2 separate regions of the Homo sapiens genome follow, and region 1 is linked to region 2. Evidence: promoter capture Hi-C in human tissues and cell types (Jung and others, 2019). All regions are on one chromosome and are shown on one strand. Each heading gives the region's core, a stretch centred on a gene start or on the middle of the fragment in contact. The rest is flanking DNA. Distances are from core to core; before and after follow the strand shown. Region 1 overlaps COL5A1 (collagen type V alpha 1 chain). Region 2 holds the start of DNLZ (DNL-type zinc finger).

Region 1 (6,198 bases), core at 1,507-4,006, 1.6 Mb before region 2:
GGTCTGAAATCATGAGGCTGTGCATTTGTGAAGGTTCCCTATGATGCCATGGTGGCAGTGCCGTGCCCCTGTGGGTCGCTGAGCAGTGTTTGCCCAGCGAAGCCCTTCCCTGGGCTCCTCGGGCAGGTGGGGGAAGGAGAGGGCTGGGGACCATCAGTAAAGATTCAGGCCCCAGTGAGTCCCGCCTTCCATGGACTTCCAGGGCCCACACCTGCTAGCCTCGATAGAAACACCCGGAAGGCAGGCGCCACCTCTGTGCTGCTTGTGAGCGCCCCCTACATCCATTCGCGTGTGTGCCCCAGAGCTGGTGTCCACGGATATTTGTGCCTAAGAAATGTTCCCTGTGATCAGAGCGTCTTTGAGGCGAGTCCCTTCCTTTCCCTTCCCCGTGTGCCTCTCCAAAAGCCTTGCACCCCAGGCACTCCTGTGTTTTAAGGCAGCTCCTGAATACCGTCCAGTGTTACTGTGGATTTGATTGCATTTTTCAGGATGCTGTGGCCAAACTCCTCCTGAATCTCCGCAGTCCACTGGAGAGTTTAACGTTTTCATCTAGAAATAAGCTTGCTTACCGTCTAATTGACTCCCGAGAGCGCCAGCTGGTGTTGACCAGCCACTCATCTATTGCTCTTAAGAGAGACTTCACACAGATCTTTCCACCTACAGCATATTTATTACTTTTGGGTAAAGTAGCGATCTGCTTCTGGGTCTGTGGGCAGGTCCCACCTGCTGGGGGGCCTGGATCCTCCTCTGGGAAGCCCCAGGGATTCAGTATGCAGGTTTCTTTCCCAGCCGCCTCAGGGTCAGAGTGGAGGCAGTTTCCCAAGCTTTCTCCAAATTGCCACACAGGGGCACCTCGCTCCCTGCACAGTGGGATGCATTTGATGCCTTGGGAGGAGGCCCCCACCCTTCAATGACCCCATTATGTGCAGAAGCAGCCTGGCAATAATGATGCTGCCCGGCGCTGTCTTATCAGCCCCTCCTGTCACTCAGCAGGGGCTCAAACCTTCTCCCCCTCTTTTTTATGTGTCCAGGATTAGCCTTCCCCATGGGATTTTGCGTGAGTGCATTTTCTGTGCCTTGAAAAGTTTCGTATGTAAGCCATGCCCTGAAAAACAGCAGTCACTACCTCCCAGCCAGAAAGTGTGGCTCACCTCTACCTAACAGGTTCTGGTGTGGTCTCCCCAGGACCAGCCTTGGGGTGATGCCCTGCTATGCCATCCCCTCCCCATGGCCTGCTGGTGCTACACCCAGGGTGGGAGAGGACACAGGCTAGATCACTGGCAACTTGACAGAGTGAGCAAGTCCACTCACGAGCACGCAGCTGCTGTCTGACTCCGAAGGAGTTAGCTTCGAGAAAAGCTGTGGGGAAGAAGCAAGCAGCATGGGATTCATTTGCTTTCCTGGCTCCCAGGCTCCTGTGGATGGGACACGCCAATCCAGTCTCTCCTTGTCTTTAGAAGTGTTCAGGACATCTTGGCAGAGCTGCTCAGAGAGGTTCACACACACACTCAAGCACACACGCTTGCACACTCACCCACACATGCACTCACATTCACATGCACTCATGCACACACACTCATGCCTACGTGCACGCACTCATGCATACATGCCCACACATGCATACATGCACACACTCAACCGTATATGCACACATGTACACACCCACACACGCACACACTCATGTGTACACGCACACACTCACCTATACATACACGTATGCATGCACAGTCACCCACACCTGCACACACTCATGCACACCCCCATACATGCACACTCACACCCACACATGCACACACATCCACATATACATGCATGCACACACACTTACACATGCACACTCACCCACACCTGCACACACACTCATGCACACACTCACCCAGACATGCACACAGGTACGCTCACACACATGCACACACATTCACACATGCATGCACACACCCATACATGCTCTCACACAGTTACACACACATGCACTCACACACCTGCACACACATTCATGCACATGCTCACTCATACATGCACACACATACACCCACACATGTACACACATTCGCACACTCATGCATGCATGCACACTCATCCATACACATGCACACACATTTACACACATGCACTCACACACCTGCACACACACTCATGCACATATGCACACACCCAGGCGTGCACGTGCACACACATCTACATGCACGCGTGCGCTGTCTGGGTTCACCTCCACACGGCCCTTCCATGGAGGCTGGTCTGCAGGCTTGTGTGCCCGAATCCCCAGCAGCCTGGTCGTGAATGACTTCTGGCCATTTCGAGTCACATTTATCTTCAAAGCTTAGTCCCCTGAGGCCACTGATAGGAATCTGTCCAAGCCTCAGGTGCCATACCAGGAGATCAGTGGGAACTGTGGGTTTCTCTGCTGTAGCCCTGGAGGCAGTGTGTGTCTCCCAAAGCGAGCTCAGTGTTGAAGATTCATTGGAGGGTATACATTATCATATGGAAAAGAAAATCAAGTACAGTTTGTGGAGAGAGAGGTGAAGGGAGCAAAGGCCTCGGGACATTTCTAGAGTGAAGGGACAGCTGGCAGGAGCTGCATGAATGGCGCCAAGTGCACTATGCTGTAGGACCCCATGCAGGGTCTGCCAGGGTGTTCATCACGGTCAGTTAGTGGCAATGGCTGGGTGAGTCCAGGAGTCTTTCTCACGTGGGCCCCTTAAGGCCGCAGGTCTTACCCAGAGCCCCGATTATTGGTGGCCTATGGATAAAGAGCCCCTCCTGTGGATTTTCTGGTTGTTAGTTCTGGTTGAGGGGTGCGGTCTGAGGCATCAGGCTTCTTGATAGGGCCCCGCTTCCAGTCTTTTAGATGGGCCCTAGGGCTCCTGGAAGAGTGTCTGTCTAGCTCTTGGAAGGGGCTCAGTAGGAACCCTCTCAATGAACGAACGAATGGTGGGTTCATTTCTTTGGGATCCTCGGACAATTGATGACCAACTTGGGGTTTAAAGCAACAGGAATGTCTTCTCTCTTAGTTCTGGAGGCCAGAAATCTGAAATCAAGGTGTAGGCAGGGCCGCACCCCCTCTGGAGGCTCCAGGTGAGGGTCTTCCTCACCTCTTCTGGCTCCTGGTGGCCACTGGCCGTCCTCTGCCCTTGTAGCTTGCCGGCGCATCTCTGCAGTCTCTGCCTCTGTCTTCACCCAGCCCTCCCCTGTGTCTCTGTCACTGCCTCCCCTCCTCTTCCCTTACAAGGACTCATCATTGGATTTAGGACCCAAGATCTCATCTCAAGATCCTCACTCCCATCCTCAAAGACCCCAAGTAAGGGCACAGTCACGTGTTTCAGGACCTGGATGTACCTTTGATGAGAGACCCTTCAGCCCACCGCGCGTGGTCATGCACGTACGTGTTCTGCACAGCCAGGAGATGTCCAGCAGGAAGTGACCACTGAGAGCTTCTCCCAGCCACTCCCGAGCTGGGCCTGCCCAGGGTCGGGCCTGGACAGAACCACATGCACACAAAGGTTCTGGAGAGACGCCTGCACACTGCCCTCCTGCTCCAGCTCTTTCCGAGAGTGGAAGGGAGCTTTTCAACACAAAGCCTCCTGCAGGCCTACAGCTCCTCCCAAACCTGCCACCACCATGAAGAGAAAAGGCTCAGAGTTCTCTGCTCACTGCTTTGACCCAAATCCCGGCCTGGAAAGAGGCCTTGTGCCTCTCCCCTGAGGTTGAGCCGAGGGTCTCGTGGGGACAGTTTCACGTGCTGAATCTGCAGTGGCAGAGGGAGCCACTTTGTGAGGCATCTGGTCACCCAGCCACATCGTCTCTGTGCAAAGGACGTCTGGACGTCCTCAGGAAAGAAACCCTGTTAGATACCAGTGGTGCCTTCATTTGGAAGTAGGCACCTGATTTCTTCACCTGGTATAGGTATGACACTGAGAGCCCTCCTGTGCCAGGGCCTTCAGAACATTGCTGTTTGACCAAGTTAGGGCACTGATTTGGGGGCCAGCTAATGGAGTAACAGGAAAATACATGCAAATAGCAAAGGCAAGGTGGGATTTCTTATTTTGCCATATTTTGCCTGTGGCTGGAGCCAAGCAGCATCCGCATGACCTGTGTGTGGGCCTGCTGGAGCGTTCCCTTGGTGTCTGACACCTGCCTTGTCGCAGACAACAGCCACATCGCTGGCCCGTGCTTTGTGTCATGAAAATTGGAAATGTGACTTTGAGGTGTAGCCGTGTCTTTCAGCCCAGGGGTCAAAGTCTTTACGTTAGAGACCACAGGGCTTGGCAAAGGCTTGCTGACAATGTTTCTAAGTGATAGCAAATGCAGGTTCATGTTGGTGGCCCTGAGGACTTGTGTCAAATTTGAACACTTCGGAAGGGTTCATGGGGGTGGCGACATTCTTTCCTTTCTTCTCCACACTGTCTCCTTCTTCTAGGACTTCACGTTATCCTTGTTCATCTACGTTCCCATTCTTTGGAATTGTTCCGGGTGTCGGTGAGAAGCGGCATCAGAGGGAAGTTGCTTTCACAGCCTGGGGATTGGATTTTCACCACCGTGGCTTAGAACAGGCAGGAAGGATGCTGAAAAGAGGGTCTTTGGAAATGGACAGCAGTGGACAAGGAGTGGCCTTGAGGAGACTTCCTGGCTTCCTACAGCAACACCATGTGAGCAGGAGCATGCATGCACAGACACACATGCACACACATGCATTCCCACACAAACGTACACATGCATACACACATGCATTCACACACATGCACACACGTACACATTCATATGGACGTTCACACATCCACACACACCTGCATATGCATGCATACATGTATTCACACACATGCATTCATACACACATGCATTCACACGCACATTCACACACATGCAGATACATGCACACATGCATTCATACACATGCAGACACATGCACACATGTATTCATACACACATGCAAACACATGCACACATGCATTCATACACACATGCAGACACATGCACACATGCAAACACATGCACACATGCATTCATACATGCAGACACATGCACACATGCATTCATACACACATGCAGACACATGCACACATGCGTTCATACACATGCAGACACATGCACACATGCATTCATACACACATGCAGACACATGCACACATGCATTCATACACACATGCAGACACATGCACACATGCATTCATACACACATGCATTCATACACATGCAGACACATGCACACATGCATTCACACACACATGCATTCACACACACATACACATGCATTCACACACATGCATTCATACACATGCAGACACATGCACACATGCATTCACACATGCACACACCCACAAACATGCATGCACAGACATGCATCCACACATGCATACACAGACATGCATCCACACATGCATACACATGCATTCACACATTCCACACGTGCACACACATGCATTCATGCATACATTCACACACATGCACACACCCCATGCATTCATATGCACACCCACACACATGCACACATGCATTTACACATGCACACACATGCCTTTACACATATATGCACATGCACACACACATGCATTGATAGTCACATACATGCACACACATGCATTCACACATTCACACACATGCACATACATACACTTACATTCACACATGCACACACATACACTTACATCCACACATACATGCACACACACTTACACACATGCACTGCACAGACAGCAGCTTGTCCTTGGGAGACACTGACCCCAAATCTTAAATGCAAGGTTTGGTTTGGAATTGATTCCGACACAGGAATCTCAGCTGTAAGTGGCTATGAGGATTGTATGTCAATGACAAAACCTGGGCGGCAAACATGTTTTGGATCTTTATTTTTTAAACACGATTTTTGTCTTCTGAGAGTGTTTTCCAAAATGGCAGTTGGGAGCAATTGGGCAGTATCCATTAGCAATTCAGAAATATACACATATATACATTCTTTGACCCAGCAGCACTGCTTTGAGGGACTTACCTAGTAGAATATGTTAGCACGTCTGTCGGGCAGTGTTTGTCATAATGCAAACTGGAACCAATCCAACGTGCATCGGCAGAAGACGGGTTAAATAAACAAGGAGTCCATTGTGCCTGGGAGATGCAACAGATGTTGCCAAGGATATCTACAGAGACAGGCCATGATTTCAAGAGCAAATTGCAGAATATTTAGGGACAGTATCATTAAAAAGAAAGAGA
Region 2 (5,421 bases), core at 723-3,222:
TGTGTAGAAGGAACTGTGGTGAGGCGAGAGGTCCTGCGGCTCCTATGTCCCACCCAGCAGCACCAGGGATTCAGAGCAATCGTTCTAACTCCAGAAAAAGAAAGGCCACGAGGGCCACAGGCCCCAGCATCTGGAAGTAATGTCTGTTTATTGATAGAAAACAGGCCACGTCCAGAGAGGCCCAGGGCCAAAACCTCCTTCTGGAAGGCCGAAGTCCCACAGTGCCGGGGAGCGCAGGAGTCAGCTCGGCTCCGTCTTGCCAGGGCTGGGGGGACCCTCATCCTCACCCGCTTCCGGAGCTGCAGTGGATGTGGGGGCCCCTGCAGCCTCCAGAACCAGTTCCAGGGCCCCCTCGCCCGCCACACGGTGCACCTGCTCGCCTCTGGCCGTCAGGATCTCTTCGATATTTCTGGGGGGCAGGGAGGCAACATGGCTCTTCAGGGCCCCCCAGCCGCCCTGCACTTCAGTCCCCTCAGGGCGCCCCATGGCCAGGCCAGAGCTGCAAGCACCAGGCCCAGCACTCCTGTGGCATCAGGCCACACGGGCACTTCAGACGCTGGCCTGTGTGCCCTCACCAGCCCTGTGTCTCTGCCGGTATGCGCCGCCTCAGGAACCCAGTCTCCTGCTCCTGCCCCCTATGTGCCAGAGGGAAGAATCTGCAGCCCCGGGTCTGATGGGAGGACAGTCCCAGCTCCAAGGGCCAGGTACCACCAAGCACCTGGCATGCTGGTCTCAGACCTGCTGTCGCTGTTACTGTCCTGCCCAGGACCTCCCGGCCAGGCAAGGCCCGGACCAGGCTCCCGGCACCACCTCCACTGCTCTCCCAGCAGCCAGGGCCCAGGCCACACCTCCTGGTCCACACCCCAAGCCTTGCTGTGGGCCAGCCACCCCAAGATGGCAGAGGGCAAAAAAGTTCCACGCTAGAGAGGGACAAGGCTGCCAGTGATGGCAGAGGGCAGGCAGAGGCAGGGAGGCAGGGCCACAGGGCTGGCAAAATTTAACAAATAAAAACGCACCCCCTACTTGGGGCATACTTAAACTCAAAAGCTATCTGGGCTTTATAGGAAATTCTCATTTAACTGTGTGTCTTGTATTGATAAGGTGGCTGGATTTCCCAGGTGAGATCTATAAACCTCAACACTAGGGCAAGGTTCCCCCAGGGAGGCCAGGGTACTTCTGGGTGGCCTTCTGGCCCAGCCCTGGGGTACAGGCCTCACCTCTTCCCATTCAGGTCCGAGAACCAGCCCAGGTTGTCAGCGATGATATGGTGGTTCTGGCAGCCGGGGCAGGTCACAATGACCACGCCTTGGTGATAGGCCAGCTTGGAGATGCGCTTGGAGGACCTAGTCCCGCAGACCTGGCTGGGACAGGGTAGCTGGTGAGGCTGTGAGGGCCGCCACGCCCCTCCCGGGAAGACCCGCCCCTCTAGGGGTAGCTCCAGCCACCTCACCCTCTCCAGAGAAGGCCCCGCCCCCGAGGGATAGCTCCACCCACCCCCAACCTCGCCCTCTCCCGGGAAGGCCCCGCCCCAGGGACGGCTCCACCCCTCCTCATGGTCCGCCTCCGCTCCCTCCCAGAAGCCCCAAGGGGTGGCTCCACTCCTTCCTGTGACTTGACCACGCCGCCTCCCGGATCCCCGGCGGGCCGCTTCTCCCCGCAGGCCGTGTAGCGTCAGATACGGGTCTGTCCCCGGTTCCGTCCCGCCGCGCGCCTACCTTGCAGGTGTAGACGAGCTGGTAGTGCGCCGCCTCCACGCGCCCCAGAGCCGCCGCGGGCCCCGGCCCCTGCTCGGAGCTTGAGCGCCGCCAGCCCCAGGCCCAGGCCCGCCGCCTCCCCGCGACCTCTGGACGGGCCCCGCGGCCCCACAGCCGCCTCAGGCAGGGCGCCCGGGGCTGCACGCGACTCAGCAACCTCGGCGCGCCGCGCAGCGCAGTCCGCAGCATCCCGCTCGCCGGCTCCGTCCGCCCTGCCCCGGCCCCGCCCCGCCGCCATCTTGGAAGTGGGCGCCGGGCGGAAGCGGCGTTCTTGGGCTTCCGTCTTCCGGGTCGGGGGCGCGCTGCGCTATGCCGCCCCCTGGCGGCCTGAGGGGGCCCTGCGTCCACGTGCAGCTCGCACCCCGAGGACACCGCGGGCCGCAGCGAGGAGGGACGGCCGCGGGGCTGCGCGCGAGTGTCCGAGCGGGAATGCGGGTCACCCGTGCTGTTTATTTACGCAGCTGTGTTTTCTAACACTAATACAATGCATGCATGTATTGTGTGTTACATGGTGAAACAGAACAGATCCTGAAGTTACACAGATGGCGTGTGCATGGGGGTGGTGAGCACCCGCATGGCCTCCGCAAAATGAGTGCCGCTTAACAAACGGCCCCAATGCCCGGCAGTCCGGCTGGGCCTTTCAGGGCACCAGATTCCTCGTTCCAGGCCAAGTCAGCGACGGCTCGGGGAAGTCTGCGCCCCAGGGCGTCGGCACCCCCGGGTGGCAGGAGGCCGGGCCGGTGGGTGTGCCCTGGTCGGGGCCTGCGCTGCTGCGGCTAGGAGCCCTCAGTGTCGGTGTTGTCGCTGCCCGTGGTGTTCTCCCGGTCCTCCTCCCCCTGCCGCCATCCTTTCTGCATCTTCCTGAGGGCGCGCTTCCTGTGAAGACAGGTGTCTCAGGCGCGACCCGGCTGCCGCTCCCCAGCCCGTTTTGGAGAAGCCTGGGGGCCGCCCGCCTACCTGCGGTAGTTCTCAAAACTCTCTTTGAGGCGCCGCCGCTCCTTCTCGGGCGGCTCCCCGCTGCTCAGGCCTGCGTCCTGGAGAAGGGGGAAGGCTCGGGCTCCGGCCGGCTCCCCTGAGGGAACCCGTCCTTCTCACCCGCCCCCCACTGGCCCCTGTAACTGCAGACTGGTTGGGAGGCGAGGAGCCCAGACAGCCTCAGCTCAGCGCCAAGCTCTCCCTGTGGGACCTGCCTGTACCCCTGGAGGTGAGCCGGTGTGGGTAGCCTGCATTTCAGATGCCAAGACACACCCAGGAGGCCAAGCCACGGCTCCAGCCTGGGGTCCGGGCCATTGTTTCTACAACAAAGCCCGAGGTGGTGCTTGCTCTCAGGACTCCTGTGTTCACCTCCTCATCCACTGTAAAGGCCCTCGGAAAACCAGGACCAGGCACATCCACGTCCAAAAAGCCCCCCAAGCTGCTGCAGTGCCCAAGAAAGGGGGATCCACTTCGCAGCCCAGACACCGCACCCCGAGCACTGTGGGCAGAGACCTTGTGGTCACTCCTCAGCTGTCGTCGGGGCCACCGCAGGGGGTGCCCAGGGCAGGGAGCCACTCTCCCTGTGATCGGTCACCCTGAGGCCCACGGCTGGGAGGACCCCACCCCGGGGAAGCCTTACATGGGGGTTCCGCAAAACCTGCTCCTGGTGCAGAGCTGCAAAGGGCTGTTTCGGGCTCCCCCCGCCGGCAAGGCAGCCTGGAAAGGAGAGTCGTGCCTGTGGGACCTGCCCATCTGCTGGGCCACGTATAGCACGGCTGCCCCACCCCTCCCCGGCATTGCAGTGGGGCTGTCTTCCAAGGCCTGGTGGGATCCCCACATGGGTCCAGTGTAGACTCTGCTTTCTGTAGATGAGACTGAGGCCTTATGGCCTCGCTTGCCTGTTCATTGCTCCAGGAGGCCGCCAGATGCCAGCCCAGGCCCAACGCTCCCGCCAGTGACCATCCCTCCCCCGAGCTGGCTGCCTGCCAGGGAGGAACGCCTCCCAGACCTCGGGGGAACTTAAACCCTGGGCCTGAGCAGCACCGTCCCCCATCACTCCAAAGCATCTGTGGGCATGGCGGCCCTGGGGAGAGAGTTGGGGACAGCTACAGTGGCTGTCTGGGTCCTCCTGAAGTGGGGGCAGGGGTACTGCAGCAATTGGGAGAGAACCTTCAGGCGGCTGGACCCCCTCAGAAACCGCCAGGACCTGGGCAGACCAGGGATCAGGACCCTTGGGCAGAAACCACGCACGTCCAGTCTCAGCCCCACTGCGGTGAGGGCCAGGCCAGGGCTGTCCTGGCCATTGGCAGCCCCTTAGAGCCAGCCCCTCCCCTGCTCACCCTCCAACCTTCACACCTGCCCCTGCTCCTGCCACAGCCACCCAGGGGGATGGGGGCAGTGCCTGAGCCGGACTCCTGGGTCCTGCTCGCCTCTGTGCCTACATGGGGGCTTGGCATCCCCATGTTCAAGTGTTCTGAGCTGCAGCCAAAGGCGCTGGTCTTCACTTCCCCGTCTGCGGCTCCTCCTTCCCCTTCCGCCTCTGCTTGGAGGCCACGGCCTGGTACTCAGGAAGCTTGTCCAACTCCGGTGCAGCCTCCCAGGACCCCTCTGCTGGGCCCTCCCCAACCCCTACCTGACAGCACCTTCAGTGCAAACACCTACCTCATCACCACTGCCCACTCCTGGACACTCGGGAGCTGCTCCCAGCTAGCCACCCAGTCCTTCCCCCAGACAGGCAGAGGGGGCCTGCCCTGCCCGCTAGAAGCCCCTGCCACTGCCTTACCCCCACTGCACCGGGACACAGCAGGCCCTTGGCCACCCCTGCATTCAGCCCTTTCCCTCAAGCCACGTGGGGCCCCATCTCGCCCCATCTTCTAGCTTCATGCACCTGGTCGTTCGCTCGTTACCACCTCCCTCTGTCCAGGAGGAAGCTTGGAGCAGCCAGGACTGGGCCTGCTCACCTCTGCACCCCGTGGGGGCTGCCCAGAGGGGCCCCACACTCTCAGGACGGTGGGCCTGCTCACCTCTGCAGCCCATGGGGGCTGCCCAGACCCCCACACTCTCCACCCCAGGGGACACTTGTCCCACTAGCTGGGGCCCTGGGTTCCAGCTGGGCTCTGTAGTTTGTTCTCTAGGTGACCTTGACCATTTTACTTATCCCCAGCCCCAGTTTCCCTGTCTGTGGAGTGGGGGTTGTGGGGGTTGACACAGGCATTGCGGCACGGGCTGCCTGTGCTGAAGATGGGCCTCACTTGGGGAAGCTGGGAGGCCTCTGGGTGTACTGCTGTCCCCACCTCACCTTTGTCTGAGAGCTGGGTGTCCTCCAGGTCCTGGGGGAGTGAGAGCTTCCAAAGAGAGTCAAGATGTCCCATTAGGCCACTTCGCCAAGGACTGGACCCGGCCACACTGCCCACCCCAGCCCTTGGCCCTCAGCTGGGTGCAGCCATTGCCGTCACCCCCTGCACAGAGCTTCTCAGAGACTCAGGTGCCCAGCAGACGGACATTGGGCGGCCAGGAGGTGGGCACTGTCCGTGCCTTACCTTACCCCTTGAGCCATCAGAGGCCTTAGCATTTGGCCACCTGCTCTTCCTCCACCCAGCCCAGCCCACCGAGCAGGGCCATGTGACGGGCAGTGTGGGGCTATGCCTGGTGGCAGCTCAGCCAGGACCCCAGGTGAAGGAAGGCCAGCCTC

What was found. Contacts are between HindIII fragments. The study calls those that stand out against the background at their distance.
Region 1: a contact is called between a fragment that was not itself captured here and the fragment with the promoter of DNLZ in region 2, in 1 of the 25 tissues and cell types used here (dorsolateral prefrontal cortex).

The regions. Positions count from the first base shown.
Region 1 is chr9:134,742,761-134,748,958 of GRCh38, forward strand. The region is part of intron 11 of COL5A1 (collagen type V alpha 1 chain); the gene reads left to right. Among named protein-coding and RNA genes, the nearest start is that of COL5A1-AS1, 93 kb to the left of the region's middle. The HindIII fragment of the contact is 7,573 bases long and covers 1-6,198 here.
Region 2 is chr9:136,361,772-136,367,192 of GRCh38, forward strand. DNLZ (DNL-type zinc finger) reads right to left here and starts at 1,973. Exons shown (of 3, transcript NM_001080849.3): 1 at 1,716-1,973; 2 at 1,218-1,357; 3 at 1-409. The coding sequence starts at 1,943. The coding sequence ends at 241. CARD9 (caspase recruitment domain family member 9) reads right to left here. Exons shown (of 13, transcript NM_052813.5): 10 at 5,029-5,074; 11 at 3,370-3,446; 12 at 2,712-2,788; 13 at 2,185-2,630. The coding sequence ends at 2,531. It overlaps LOC124902309 (a long non-coding RNA gene), which reads left to right and starts at 1,598. Exons shown (of 2, transcript XR_007061863.1): 1 at 1,598-1,681. RefSeq lists silencers at 1,329-1,608, 1,709-2,208, 2,239-2,338 and enhancers at 2,550-3,440, 3,441-4,330. The HindIII fragment of the contact is 10,875 bases long and covers 1-4,481 here.